Regions from separate parts of the Homo sapiens genome. Here region 1 is linked to region 2. The links are contacts of gene promoters, found by promoter capture Hi-C in blood cells and fetal thymus (Javierre and others, 2016). All regions are on one chromosome and are shown on one strand. Each heading gives the region's core, a stretch centred on a gene start or on the middle of the fragment in contact. The rest is flanking DNA. Distances are from core to core; before and after follow the strand shown. Region 1 holds the start of CYS1 (cystin 1). Region 2 holds the start of NOL10 (nucleolar protein 10).

Region 1 (6,867 bases), core at 529-3,028, 610 kb before region 2:
CTGCCTCCCTTGGGATTAGCCGCTTTCTCCTGTGGCCTTTTGATACGGATCTCTCATCGCCCTGCTTTCTACTTTCCCCCATCGAGCTGCAGACTTCTTTAAGGCAAGGGCTATGCTGTGTGGCCTCATCCCTAGCACCCACAGCGGGACCGGTGCTCAAAGGATAGCTGGAAAATGACTTAAAGAGCGAGCAGTCACCATGATGAATAATATCAGCAAATCAGAGGGCACAACATTCACTCTTGCTATTTGCCTCTCATTTTCACCTCCGAGTTTCCAAAGCACTTGAAAATGAACACTAAAATTAACTGCCTCCTTGCTATGTGTGAATTCCTCCCAAATTTCTCAGCTATTTGTCCAGGCAGTGTTATATAACTGCAGGCTGATGTGGTATTAAAGGAATCTTGTTATATAATTCAGCCCTACTCACTGCAGCTCGCTTTTCCTCTTTAAAGACCGTAAGGGAGAGGAGCAGGGAACCAGGGCCAGAGGGAGAGAGCTCTGTGCACTGTCGCCTGGGGCTGTCCCTCTCCCCCACCCTCCCTGGGGCCTTTTCAGGATTCCTTGGTGCGGTAGCCACCCAGGAAGGCATCTTCCTCGGCTCCCAGCGGCTGCTAAGCAAAGCCTCCCGGGCCTCAGGGAGGAGGACGAGGCCCTTGGCATCCTCCCCGAGCCCGGGAGCGGATGTTAAAGATCTTGTTCATTCAGCTCTGCTGGAGCGAAGACGGTTGCCAAACCAGAGTGCTTGTTTTATTGTTTTTTTAGAACAGCAGGACTGTTATTACGAGTATTCAGGGAGAGAGAATAGGAAGCGCAAAAGAGATTCCGCAGCATCCTAAAAATATCAGTAACATGAGAATTGCCTGCCCAGCAAGGCAAGGATCTGGACCGGTGGGCGCGGCAGGGCGCTTCTGAGCCACCGTCTGGCTGCCGTGCCACCACCGCCGGCGCCCCGCTCCAGGGCGGCCCGGGAAGGCCAGGCGGGGCCGCGGGCCCGAGGGGAGCCGGGAGCCCGGCGCGCTCCGCCTAGGGGTGTCCTTCCTCGGCCGCTCCCAGCGCGATCGCCCCCACGCCTGGACACAGACCCGGAGACGGGGCAGAGAGGGAGGAAACCTGGGGGCCCAGGGGCGGGGAGGCCGGGGCAGCGGGGAGCACGCAAGTCGGAGGCTGGAAGGGGGCGCAGCGCGACCGGCGCCCAGGGCTGGGGCGGGGACGCGCGGCCGGTGAGTGGGGTCCCCGCCGTCCCCCGAGGCCCTGCGGCTCCCACACTCACCGCGCTCCCCGCGACCGCGGTGGGTCGGAGCCGGGCTGGGCGGCGCGGGGCGGGCTCCGGGGGGCCCCAGGCCGCCGACTCGGCCAGCAGCTCGTCCAGCAGGCGCAGCGTCTCGTCCCTGCCGTCGGGGGGCGCCACGGGGCTGGGGTCGCGGCCGGGCGCCTCCTCCGCGGCTGCCCCCGGGACCTCGGCCGCCGCCACCGGCACCCGCCGGCGGGTCCCGCCCTCCAGGGCTGCCGCTCCGGGCCCCGCGGGGAGGCTCTCGGGGCTGCGCCGCCGCCTCAGAGTCCGGCTGCTCCGGCTGCTGCCGCTGCCCATGGCGCGCCCGCCGCCTCCCGGACCGCCGAGGGGGCCCCCATGAGGGGGCGCGGCCGGGGGCGGGGACGCTAGGGGGTGCGGCCGGGGCGGGCTGCAGGGGGAGGCGCGGGGCGAGGTCCGGGAAGCGACCGCGGCCAGGGGCTAGGGTTCCCGGGCGGGGGTCGCGGCCGGAGGACGGGGGTGCGAGCCGGAGCCTGGGGAGGGGCGGGCGAGGCAGGGCTGCATAGGCGTCCCGAGGGGGCGCACACCGGCCCTAGGGAGGGGCGGGCCCGAGACCCCGGCGAGGAGCACCGGGTGCGGGCGCGGCCTCCCCTCCCGGGTCTCCCCCTACAGTCCCCCCACTCCCGCCCACGGGTCCCCTCGCTCCCCGCCGTCGGGTCAGCCCTGTCCCGGCCTTCTGGAATTGCTGAACCCTGCGGGGGGCCCGGCTGAGTTTGTTCATTTATGGAAACGCTCCCCAGACGACGCTCGCCGGGCCCGTGGGAGGCCGCGGGAGCTTGGGGGGACTTCCCAAAGCCTGAGCCCCCTAGCGATGCGCGGGGTGGGCGGGGGAAAGACCCTGAGGGCTGCGCGCGCTGCGTTCGCGAGGTCCGGCCGTCAGTGCGCCCCGACCTTTCAGTGTCCGCCAGGCCTGAGACGCCCCGGGAGGGAAGGGGCGATCCTCCGGGCACCAACAGCCCCCTCCGGCCTTCTCCTTCCCTCTGTTGCCCCAGCGGAGACTGGATGTGTGAAGGTTGAGCCTCATCAAAACCTCCAAATAGTCACTACTTTTGGGAAAGAAAAACTTTGAAAATGAAGGAGAAAGGCAAAGCAACCCCCACCTCGCCCTCCCCCCGCCACAGGAAAGAAGCAAAAGGAAATACCTAGGTGGTGGTCATAAGTCTAGCTTTTGGTCTCGGATTTTTTTTTTTTTTCCCTTAACCGCTTTTCTTTTTAAGTGAACTAACCACAACCCAGACTAGAAAACACTCCAAAGCTGCCGAATTCAAACCCAGCGAGCCTTCCTGTTGGTTGGTTCTGTGTTTTACTTAAATGTGATTACTTCCTTCCCTTGCCCACCTCCTGCAACTTTAAATTCCAGCCTTTCCAAGACAGGGCAATTCAAAAGTCCTGGGTTTAACTCACCTATCTTGACTTGACATTAACTTTTATCCTGATTGATTGGATTCCAGAATAATTGTGAAAATGGAATTTCGGCTAAACTTTCCCAACCACAGACTTGAAATTCTACTATTTTATCACTTCAGGAGTAGACATTAAAAAACATATGCCTAAGAAAATGGAATAAAAATGGGACTCAGATTCACATCCATTTATTTTTATTATTAAGAGAGAACAAGAGGCCGGGCGCGGTGGCTCACGCCCGTAATCCCAGCACTTTGGGAAGCCGAGGCAGGTGGATCACGAGGTCAAGAGACCGAGACCATCCTGGCTAACACGGTGAAACACCGTCTCTACTAAAAATACAAAAAATTAGCCGGGCGTGGTGGCGGGCGCCTGTAGTCCCAGCTACTCAGGAGACTGAGGCAGGAGAATGGCGTGAACCCGGGAGGTGGAGGTTGCAGTGAGCCGAGATCGCGCCACTGCACTCCAGCCTGGGCGACAGAGTGAGGCTCGTCTCAAAAAAAAAAAAAAAAAAAAGAACAAGAAAGTATTTATAATCTAGCTGGACGTGGTGGCTCATGCCTGTAATCCCAACACTTTCAGAGGTTGAGGCGAGCAGATCACTTTAGGTGAGGAGTTTGAGACCAGCCTGGCCAACATGGTGAAACTGTCTCTACTAAAAATACAAAAATTAGCTGGGCATGCTCACTTGAACCCAGGAGGTGGAGGTTGCAGTGAGCCGAGATCACGCCACTGCACTCCAGCCTGGGCAACAGAGCTGGACTCTGTCTCAAAAAAAAAAAAAGAAAGAAAGAAAAGAAAAGAGAGAGAGAAGAGAGGTGAGACAGAGAGGGAAAAGAAAAAGAAGAGAAAAAAAATGAGGCTGTAATCCCAGCACTTTAGGAGGCTGATGCGAGCGGATCACTTCAGGTCAGGAGTTCGAGACCAGCCTGGCCAATAGGATGAAACCCTGTCTCTACTACAAATACAAAAATTAGCCGGGCATGGTGAAGGGCACCTGTAGTCCTAGCTGCTCGGGAGCCTGAGGCAGGAGTCACTTGAACCCGTTAGGCGGAGGTTGCAGTGAGCCGAGATCGCACCACTGTACTCCAGCCTGGGCAACCAAAGAGACTCCGTCTCAAAAAAAAAAAAAAACAAAACAAACAACAACAACAACAAACAATAAAGAAAAAGCAAAAAGAAAAGAAAAAAAATTTTTTAAAGGGAAGTATTTATGATCCCCCCTGCCTTTTTTTTGAGACGGAGTCTCGCTCTGTTGCACAGGCTGTAGTGCAGTGGCCGGATCTCTGCTCACTGCAACCTCCGCCTCCCGGGTTCAAGTGATTCTTCTGCTTCAGGCTCCTGAGCAGCTGGGATTACAGGCACGCACCACCACATCCGGCTAATTTTTGTATTTTTAGTAGAGACAGGGTTTCACCATGTTCGCCAGGCTGGTTTTGAACTCCTGACCTCAGGTAATCCACCTGCCTTGGCCTCCCTAAGTGCTGGGATTACAGGCGTAAGCTACCGTGCCTGGCCTCTCCCCCCCTTTTTTTTGATGTGCCATCTTAACCATCCAGGTGTAGGATGTGGGGCCAAACACAGATGTCATTTGGGTGCGCTAAGTCTACAGATGTGTCTCGTTTGGAAGCTATTGATATAAGTTTTTAAGAAAACAAATCTCATCTTGAAACTCTTTAAACCCCAAAGAACAACAACACTTAGAGGCAAACGAGATTTTTCTTGAGTTCACTCAGTTTAATGATTTAAAGGAAAACATGTTTTGCTTCTGCCTAAATAGAAGCTAGTCATGTGACTCATGTTTAAATACATCCACAGCTCCCTGTGTTCACCTCCCAGGGCAACCAATTTTTCTGGCCACTCTTGATTCCAACACTGTTTCCCAAAACTTGTCATTAGCTCCGCTTCAGCGGGAGGAATGCCAGAGCCAGCATTCTTTCCACTTTGAGAGAACATTTTAAAATCTGCTACATTTGTAGACCTGGCTTCCATCAAATATGCTGAAAACTCAGATTGATTTTATTAGAAGCTTCCCATAATAAGCAAACAACCTAAAAGCTTTCCGCATGACTAATGTCCCTAAGATCGTCTCTAGAATTTTTGTCCGAAAGAGTTAGCAACGTCTCAGGAATATTGGAGAACTGAAATGGGGTGTAATCCTTCTTAAGAAAATATCTGGCAGTCACACCTGCAGCTGAAGGATTCTTTTATGCGGTGATAGTGCTCGTGGGTGCTGGTGATGGTGGGTGGAAGGTGAAGCCCAGTTTGGGAACTCTCTGCTTAACTCTGGGAAAATAGAACTTCCTTTCCTTAAACAAATTAAACCCTGGAAGAGGACTACAGTTGGTGATACTTTTCGGAAGGACTCGGGCGCCCGAACGATGTTTTCCTTGGTTTCAGGAGTAGCCAGGCATCTACTGCAGATGAAGCCAGTTCCTCCCACCACGACTCATGGACCAGTCATTACAATAGCCTGCCAAACCAACCCACCTTTCAAAACCCCACTCCAGGGCCCCTGCTTCAGGACTCGCAGATCTACTCTCCCTGCTCAGATATCCTGCAGTTTCCCACCAATCATGGCACTCCCAAGCCGTTACGTAAGAAAGATGTGTTGTGCAGGTGCTGGTTCTTATGAATATGCAGACAGATAATATTTGCATTTGGGTGATAAATGAGACGGCATTTGAAACATAAGCAAGCCATGTTTCTATTTTTAATGCTTAATCGGTAACTTGAGAGAGCCACAGTGCTATTAACGAATGCTGATATGTTTGGACAGCAGCAGCCCACATAATTGCTATTGTCTTTTACCAAAGTGTCCAAGCTTTTGTATTTGGTTTCATGGTTTCGGCATCAAGAGGGGAAAACAAAATATAAGGGTGAATCACCATTATTCATTAAGGACAATTAATGAGTTACAGAACTTTTTTCAATATTTACTCAGAAATAAGATACATGAGGTCCTTAGGGTTGGCAGGTCCAGGTCATGGCTGATTTGGTGCGTTCTATAACACTGTAAAAAATTCTGACAGTAAAATGACAATGACTTGTACCCCATCTAAACAAAAGGTTTAGCACTGGAATTTACGATGCATACTTTCCATGACTAGAGCAGTTCTCGTTTAGAGGCATCTCATGGCTTCTGGCTCAAAACAGCAGACCGGGTGCAGAGTTGCCTTCTCTTGGTACTTGCGACTTTGCTGGAATTAAGATAAAAGAAAAAGGGATAGAGGAGGAGTTGTAAGAAGGAGGGAAATCACAAAGGAGAGGTTTCAACGCATTTCTGAAAGATGGAAAACTGACAGTAGAGAGCTGCCAGATGACACAGGCTGAGCAATTGCAGTCTATGCCATGATGACAGACGCTGGAGAGGAAACGGGGTCAATGGACTGACAGATGAGACTCCGGGACACAGTCAGCGGGTATAAAAGGAGATGGGAGTGAGAAGTGGGCATCGGACCTAAGGAGCGATTAAGATCTTTACATGGGACAAGGGCATCATCCCCCACTGACTCCTGCTTATATTTAAGAAAAAAAAATGACCAGGTAGCTGATGTGGTTTCACTCCGCTGCCATGTGTATAAGACTCTTTTCCCATTGGATTTTTACTCCGGCTAGGAATTTAGACCGGGGGGCGGGGGGTGGTGGGTTTGTGGGGTGGGGTGGGGTGGACAGGCTTCGATTAGCTGAGCAGGCAGGAAGCTGGCCGCCTTGAACTGGAGCTACTTGAGGTTCAGGTGCCCATCCCTGGCCCACTGAGTAAGACGATGTTTGTGTGGGACTGTCCTGTCTCCAGGGGCAATGCACACAGCAGCTGAGAAAGATCCAGTACAGTGTCCACAGCCGCTGGCCTCAGTGAACGTAAGCTTCCTTCTCCTTGCAAATCTGCTACACAAAGTGATCTGTGAGCTGACTCCCCTGTCCATGAACCCACAGTTTTGAGTGTGAGATTTGGAGGCCACTCAAAACATACTTGGACCCTAGGCTTTGGTGGGGTCATTTATCATCCTGAGGACAAGGTTTGAGGGGAGAGGGAGGGCAGTGCTGGGAAAGGGAATTGAGTCTGTGTAAATTTGACCATTAACGTGTAATATTTATTACAGAGGTTAACCTTTAAATACTGTTGGCTAAAAAGAGTGTGCAACAAACAT
Region 2 (6,515 bases), core at 281-2,780:
TGTGGGGCTTTTGCACTTTCTGTTCTCAGCACTGAAAACTCTTCCCCACATCTTCACACGACTGGCTCCTCTTCATCATCCAAGTTTCTGCTCATATGTCACCTCTTGTAGAGAGGCCTTCCCCGAAGGTTTTATCCAAAACACTTTCTCTCAATATTTTATCCAAAACAGCTCTCTTCTAATCATTCACCACGAAAAGTACTTTTTGACTACCTTAAATTGCCTTATTTGCTCACTTGTTTATTTCCCTTTTCCCCAACAGGGAACCTTATCTGAAATGTCCACTATAGATCCCAATACTTAAAACAGAGTTGCTTGCACACAGTAACTTCTCAATACATGTGGAGAATGAATGAACAAAATGAGAAAGCTCATGGGGTGTGAAGAACAACTGGAAGACAGGGAATTATTCAAACCAGAATTTTAGGAAGAAAGGAAAAACCTAAGCACTGGCTCCAAATTTTTGTAGAAGCAGACGCATGGAAGGAGAGCTATATTTATTCTGTTTTCCAAGGGCAGGACTCAGGCCAACAGTGGCATGCTATAAGGTGACATATTTGAAAACCACTTTCTAACAAGTGCAGAGTCTCAAAATGGAAATGAGCTTCCACAAAAGGTAGTGCTCAGTGGTAGTGCTTGGACAGAGGCTGGATCATCACGTATAAGAAACAAAAGACAAGTTTCAGAGCCTAAGTGTGTCATGCTGGACAAGTCACCCTTCCCCTTGCTGGATCTCAGCTGCATATTAAACGCATTATTAAATCTCAGCTGCATTACTAAACACGAGAAGATTGGAAGAGAATTACCGACTTGTCCAAGCCCTCTCCAACTTTAAGACTAGGAATCAGGTTAAGTTCAACAAGTCTCGAAAATACTGTCCTCTACACCATAAATTCTGCAGATGCGAAGTCTGTATCTCCCTTGTTCACTGTTGTATCCCTAAGACCTGGCAAATGATAGGGACTCCACAAACAGCTGATGGCCATATGGGGGAGAGATGTGTCAACGAATCTGCCACGTTTTCCTCCTCGATGTACGGCAGGGACTGTGAACACCCAAAGAGGCCCAAATGGTTGCGTTCTCTGGAACAGAGAACTTTACAAAAGTTCCAGCAAAGCTCACTGACCCTGATTATCCCTTGGTCCAGTTTCTGGCGCGGTGACGGCAGTGTCCTTGTCTCCCAATGCCGACACCTCCCCCGGAAATTGTCAGCCGCCTCTGGGCCTCCCCGAGTCGGGGGGTGACCAGCGTCCAGCTAAAACAGAGGCTAGGGCCGAGGAGAGGGGCGGCTGCCCCACGAGGAGGACGACCCCCAAGAGCTCGAGAGTGAGGGGGCCGGGAAGTGACTCACCTCAGGAAGGGACTTGCCGCAGCTGAGGCTGTAAATCTTCACCTCATTGAGGCTGGAGACCTGCATGGCGCCGCACAACACTGTTCAAGTCCCGGGTCCTTTCCCACCAGCGTGCTCGAGCACCGTAATCCCGGGACCTCCGAGCCCCTGCTCCGCGGCGTGCGGCCGCTGGCGCCGACTGATGACGCACTTCCTGGAGCCGGAACACGCGGGCAAGTTCCCGGAAGAGGGAAGGTGGCTGAATCCGGGAAGAGCGGCGGCCGGGAGAAAAACTAGTGAGGCTCTGACAACCCGGCGTGGCTGTCGGCGACGCTGCTACGGGCAAGACTAGACACAAGCCGGGCGCGGTGGCTCACGCCTGTAATCCCAGCACTTTGGGAGGCTGAGGCGGGCGGATCACCTGAGGTCGGGAGTTCGAGACCAGCCTGACCAATATGGTGAAACCCCGTCTCTACTAAAAATACAAAAAAATTAGCCTTGCGTGGTGGCCGGCATCTGTAGTCCCAGCTACACGGGAGGTTGAGGCAGGAGAATTGCTTGAACCTGGGAGGCGGAGGTTGCAGTGAGCTGAGATCGCGCCGCTGCACTCCAGCCTGGGGGACAGAGCGAGATTCCCTCTCAAAAAAAAAAAAAAAAAAAAAAAAACTAGACACAGCTCTCCCTGCTGTTAGCATCCCGAGCGGCAGGAGGAGGCTTTCGAGTCTCTGCCCAGGCCGAGATGTCATCCTCCCGGGCGGGGGCGAGGCAGTTCAGCGAGTGAACCCAGCGAATGAAGGCGACCAGGGTGCGAATTCCGAGTGGAAGTGTATTCTCTTCTCTCCTCCAGTGTTTCTGCGATGTTACGTTAGAAGTACTGTAGGCCGGGTGCGGTGGCTCACGCCTGTAATCCTAACACTTTGGGAGGCCGAGGCGGGCGGATCACCTGAGGTCAGGAGTTCAAGACCAGCCTAGCCAAGATGGTGAAACCCCGTCTCTACTAAAAATACAAAAATCAGTCGGGCCTGGTGGCGCGCGCCTGTAATCTCAGCTACTCTGAAGGCTGAGGTGGGGGAATCGCCTGAACCCGGGAGGCAGAGGTTGCCGTCAGCTGAGATCGTGCCACTGCAGTCCAGCCTGGGCAACAGAGTGAGACTCCGTCTCAAAAAAAAAAAAAAAAAAAAAAGAAGACTGTGGCGTCATCTTCAACCCATTCCTATCTCTGGCCCTCACTTTCAGTATCTAAACCTGGATATTTCTAATTATGAAATATTTCCTTAAAGTAATCTGTTTTCATTCCTCCTGCTGAAACTCAAATACTTAACTATTTTTGGATTATAACTTTCCCAAGTGATCTTCTTACTTCCTTTGATTTAATGAACAAATTATTTTATGCCTTACTTTCTAAAACCCAAATATTATTGTTTTGCTCTCCTACCCACAACATTTTGGAAACTCTCAAATACCAACACCACATTGCATCAGAATTAGGTTGAGAGTTCTTCGTGGACCCTATATCATTTGTCCTTATATTCCCTATCCACCCCATCCACCCCTACCCAGAGTACCAGAACAGTGCCTGGCCTCTATTAGGCATTGCTACATATTTACATTTAGCCATGTACGTAGGGATATATTCCTTAACTCTGTCCTCAAATTTAAGATCCTCCACAAATTTTTAATTTTCTACACTGGTTACAGTTAAGAAAAACTGTAAACATCTTTGGGAAAGGTGGCATAATAGAATGGTTAGATCACAGACTCTGGCTTGGCTTGGTGGTGCAGGCCTATTGTCCTAGCTACTAGTGAAGCCGAAGCAGGAGAATCACTTGAGCCCAGGAGTTCTTGGCTGTAGCACGCAACGAGCGTTGGGTGTCCTCAGTTTGGCATCAATATGGTGACCCCACAAGAGCCAGGGACCACCATGTTACCTAAGGAGGTGTGAAGCGGCTCAGGTCAGAAATGGAGCAAGTCAAAACTCCCATGCTCACCAGTAATGGGATCATGCCTGTGACTAACACTGTACTCCAGCTTGGGCAACACAGCAAGACCCTATCTCTTGAAAAATAAATAAAGATCACAGACTCTGAAGCCAGACTGGCAAGATTCAAATCCCGACTGCCATTTTTAACTGAAAGACCTTAGGTAAGTTACCTAACCTCTCTGTACCTGTGTAAAATGGAGATAACAGTAGTATCCACTTCACAGAGTTATGAGGATGAAATACATTCATATTTATAAAACGTTTGGAACCCAGTACTTGGCACATAGTAAGACCATGTAAGTGTTTGTAAAATAAAACTGAAAATAAAGCCATATACCAAATAAGTGGAAATGTATCCAAATTCCATTAACATTTCCTTTTTAACAGTTTTATTGAGATATAATTAACATACTGTAAAATGTCCCCATTGAATGTACAATGTAATGACTTCTAGTGTATTCAGAGTTCTGCAACCATCACCACAATCATTTTTAGAACAAAAAGAAACCCCAGCCTCAATTAGCATTCACTCCATGCCCCATCCCCCACCCAAGCCCTAGACAACCACTAATCTACTTTCTGTTGGCGTTGTGGGTTTTTTCCATGGGGGCATCTCACTTTGTTGTCCAGGTTGGAATACAGTGGCATGATCATGACCCACTGCAGCCTCAAACTCGAGCTCAAGCTGTCCTTCCACCTTATCCTCCTGAGTAGCTGGGAGTACAGGCACACCACCAGAGCTGGCTGTTTTGTTTTTATAGAGATGGGTCTACCAGTTAAGCATCCCTAATCCAAACATTTCAAGTCCGAAATGCTCCAGTGAGCATTTCCTTTTGAGCATCACATTGACATTCAGAAAGTTTCAGATTTTGGAGCATTTTAGATTTTGGATTTTCAGATTAGGGATACTCAACCTGTATTTTGTAAGGGCACCAATCCCATTCATGAGAGCTCTGCCCTTAAGACCTAATCATGGGCTGAGCACGGTGGCTCACGCCTGTAATCCCAGCACTTTGGGAGGCCAAGGCAGGCAGATCACGAGGTCGGGAGTTCAAGACCAGCCTGGTGAACATAGTGAAACCCCTGTCTCTACTAAAAATGCAAAAATTAGCCGGGCATGGTGGCACGCACCTGTAGTCCCAGCTACTCAGGAGGCTGAGGCAGGAGAATTGCTTGAACCCGGGAGGCAGAGGTTGTGGTGAGCAGAGATGGCGCCACTGCACTCCAGCCTGGGCAATAGACCGAGACTCCGTCTCAAAAACAAAAACAAACAAACAAAAAAAAACTAATCATGACCAGGCGCAGTAGCTCATACCTCTAATCCCAGCACTTTGGGAGGCTGAGGCGGGCAGATCACTTGAGGCCAGGAGTTCTAGACCAGCCTGGCCAACACAGCAAAACCCTGTTTGTACTAAAAATACAAAAATTAGCCAGGTGTGGTGGTTGGCACCTGTAGTTCCAGCTAATCTGGAGGCTGAGGCACAGGAATCGCTTAAACCCGGGAGGCGGAGGTTGCAGTGAGCCAAGATTGTGCCATTGCACTCCAGCCTGGGCAACAAGAGTGAAACTCCGTCTCAAAAAAAAAAAAAAGGCTGGGCATGGTGGCTCATGCCTATAATTCCAGCACATTGGGAAGCCGAGGAGGACAGATCATGAGGTCAAGAGATCGAGACCATCCTGGCCAACATGGTGAAACCCCATCTCTACTAAAAATACAAAAATTAGCTGGGCATGGTGGCACACACCTGTAGTCCCAGTTACTGAGGTGGCTGAGGCAGGAGAATCGCTTGAACCCAGGAGGTGGAGGTTGCAGTGAGCCAGGAGGTGGAGGTTGCAGTGAGCCAAGTTTGCGCCACTGTACTCCAGCCTGGCAAAAGAGCGAGACTCTGTCTCAAAAAACAAAAAAACAGAAAAGTGAGTTTACGCCATAAATCACTGATTTCAGGACATTCATTTTTTTTTAGCATCTCTGAAAGGATGAGTCTAGTGTATCGTGCATATCTTGAGGGAATGGTGCATCTTATAGGTAATGGTCTTTTAGAGTCAATAAAATAAAGTGCATATAAAGCACTTAGAACAGTGCCTTACACAGAACACTACATAAGTGCTAGTTATTAGAAAACCAAAACATTAAAAACTATTCCAGAAAAACTAGTTGTTACAGATTCCAACTAACCTTAAATGTTCTGCTGTTAGTTGCCATTCCAGAAACCTTCAAATAACATTCAAGCTTGCTCTCCTAAATTTTTTTTTTTTTCTGAGACAGTGTCTCACTCTGTTGCCCAGGCTGGAGTGCAGTGGCGGGATCTCAGCTCACTGCAACCTCTGCCTCCCGGGTTCAAGCGATTTTCCTGCCTCAGCCTCCTGAGTAGCTGGGATCACAGGCGCATGCCACCATGCCTGGCTAATTTTTTAGGCTAATTTTTGTATTTTTAGTAGAGACGGGGTTTCACCATGTTGGCCAGGCGGGTCTCGAACTCCTGACCTCAGGTGATCCTCCCACCTCAGCCTTCCGAAGTGCTGGGATTACAGGTGTGAGCCACCGCGCCTGGCTCCTCTCCTAATTCTTTACCTCCATGGCCAGTAGGTCTCCGAAGCATTTGGTTCCTTCTTTCCAATATCAGATTCCTTCTCTGTTCCTGCTGCCGCAGGAGTTCAGACCTCATTGTCTCCTACCTGGCCCACTGTAGTCCCTTTTCCTGTTCTCCCAGCCTCAAGTCTGCCTCCCATAAGAGACAAACTCATTCTCTCTAACAGGCAAATCTGATTATGGTGCACTCCTACAAAAACTCTTCAATCCTCCTAAAGCCAAAAAGAACACACCTGAAGGTCGAGTACAGTGGCTCATGCCTGTAATCCCAGCACTTTGGGAGGCTGAGGTGGGTGATCACTTGACCTTAGGAGTTTGTGACCTGCCTGGGCAACATGGTGAAACCTTGTCTCTACAAAAAATACAAAAAATTAGCCAGGTGTGGTGGCACATGCCTGTAGTCCCAGATACTTGGGAGGCTGAGGCAGGAGGATCACCTGAGCCTAGGGAGGTCAAGGCTGCAGTGAGCCATAATCGTACCACTGCACTCCAGCCTGGGTACCAGAGTGAGACCCTCTCTAGGAAAAAGAAAATACTACATTCGAACACCTTTGCAGGTTCTGGCCTTATAGGCACCTGGCCCCTCCTTCCTTTTCCAGCCAGTGCCGAAGCTG

What was found. Contacts are between HindIII fragments. The CHiCAGO score rates a contact against its expected background, and 5 or more counts as called.
Region 1: the fragment with the promoter of CYS1 here is called in contact with the fragment with the promoter of NOL10 in region 2 in 8 of 17 cell types (fetal thymus, naive B cells, activated CD4 T cells and 5 more); the score reaches 14.8 in fetal thymus.

Annotation. Positions count from the first base shown.
Region 1 is chr2:10,078,633-10,085,499 of GRCh38, forward strand. It overlaps CYS1 (cystin 1), which reads right to left and starts at 1,779. Exons shown (of 3, transcript NM_001037160.3): 1 at 1,274-1,779. The coding sequence starts at 1,591. RefSeq lists silencers at 914-1,253, 1,324-1,563, 1,624-1,683, 1,854-2,093 and an enhancer at 4,338-4,397. The HindIII fragment of the contact is 11,698 bases long and covers 1-4,743 here.
Region 2 is chr2:10,688,445-10,694,959 of GRCh38, forward strand. It overlaps NOL10 (nucleolar protein 10), which reads right to left and starts at 1,531. Exons shown (of 21, transcript NM_024894.4): 1 at 1,352-1,531. The coding sequence starts at 1,417. It also overlaps the pseudogene RN7SL832P. RefSeq lists enhancers at 978-1,037, 1,098-1,377. The HindIII fragment of the contact is 7,879 bases long and covers 1-5,539 here.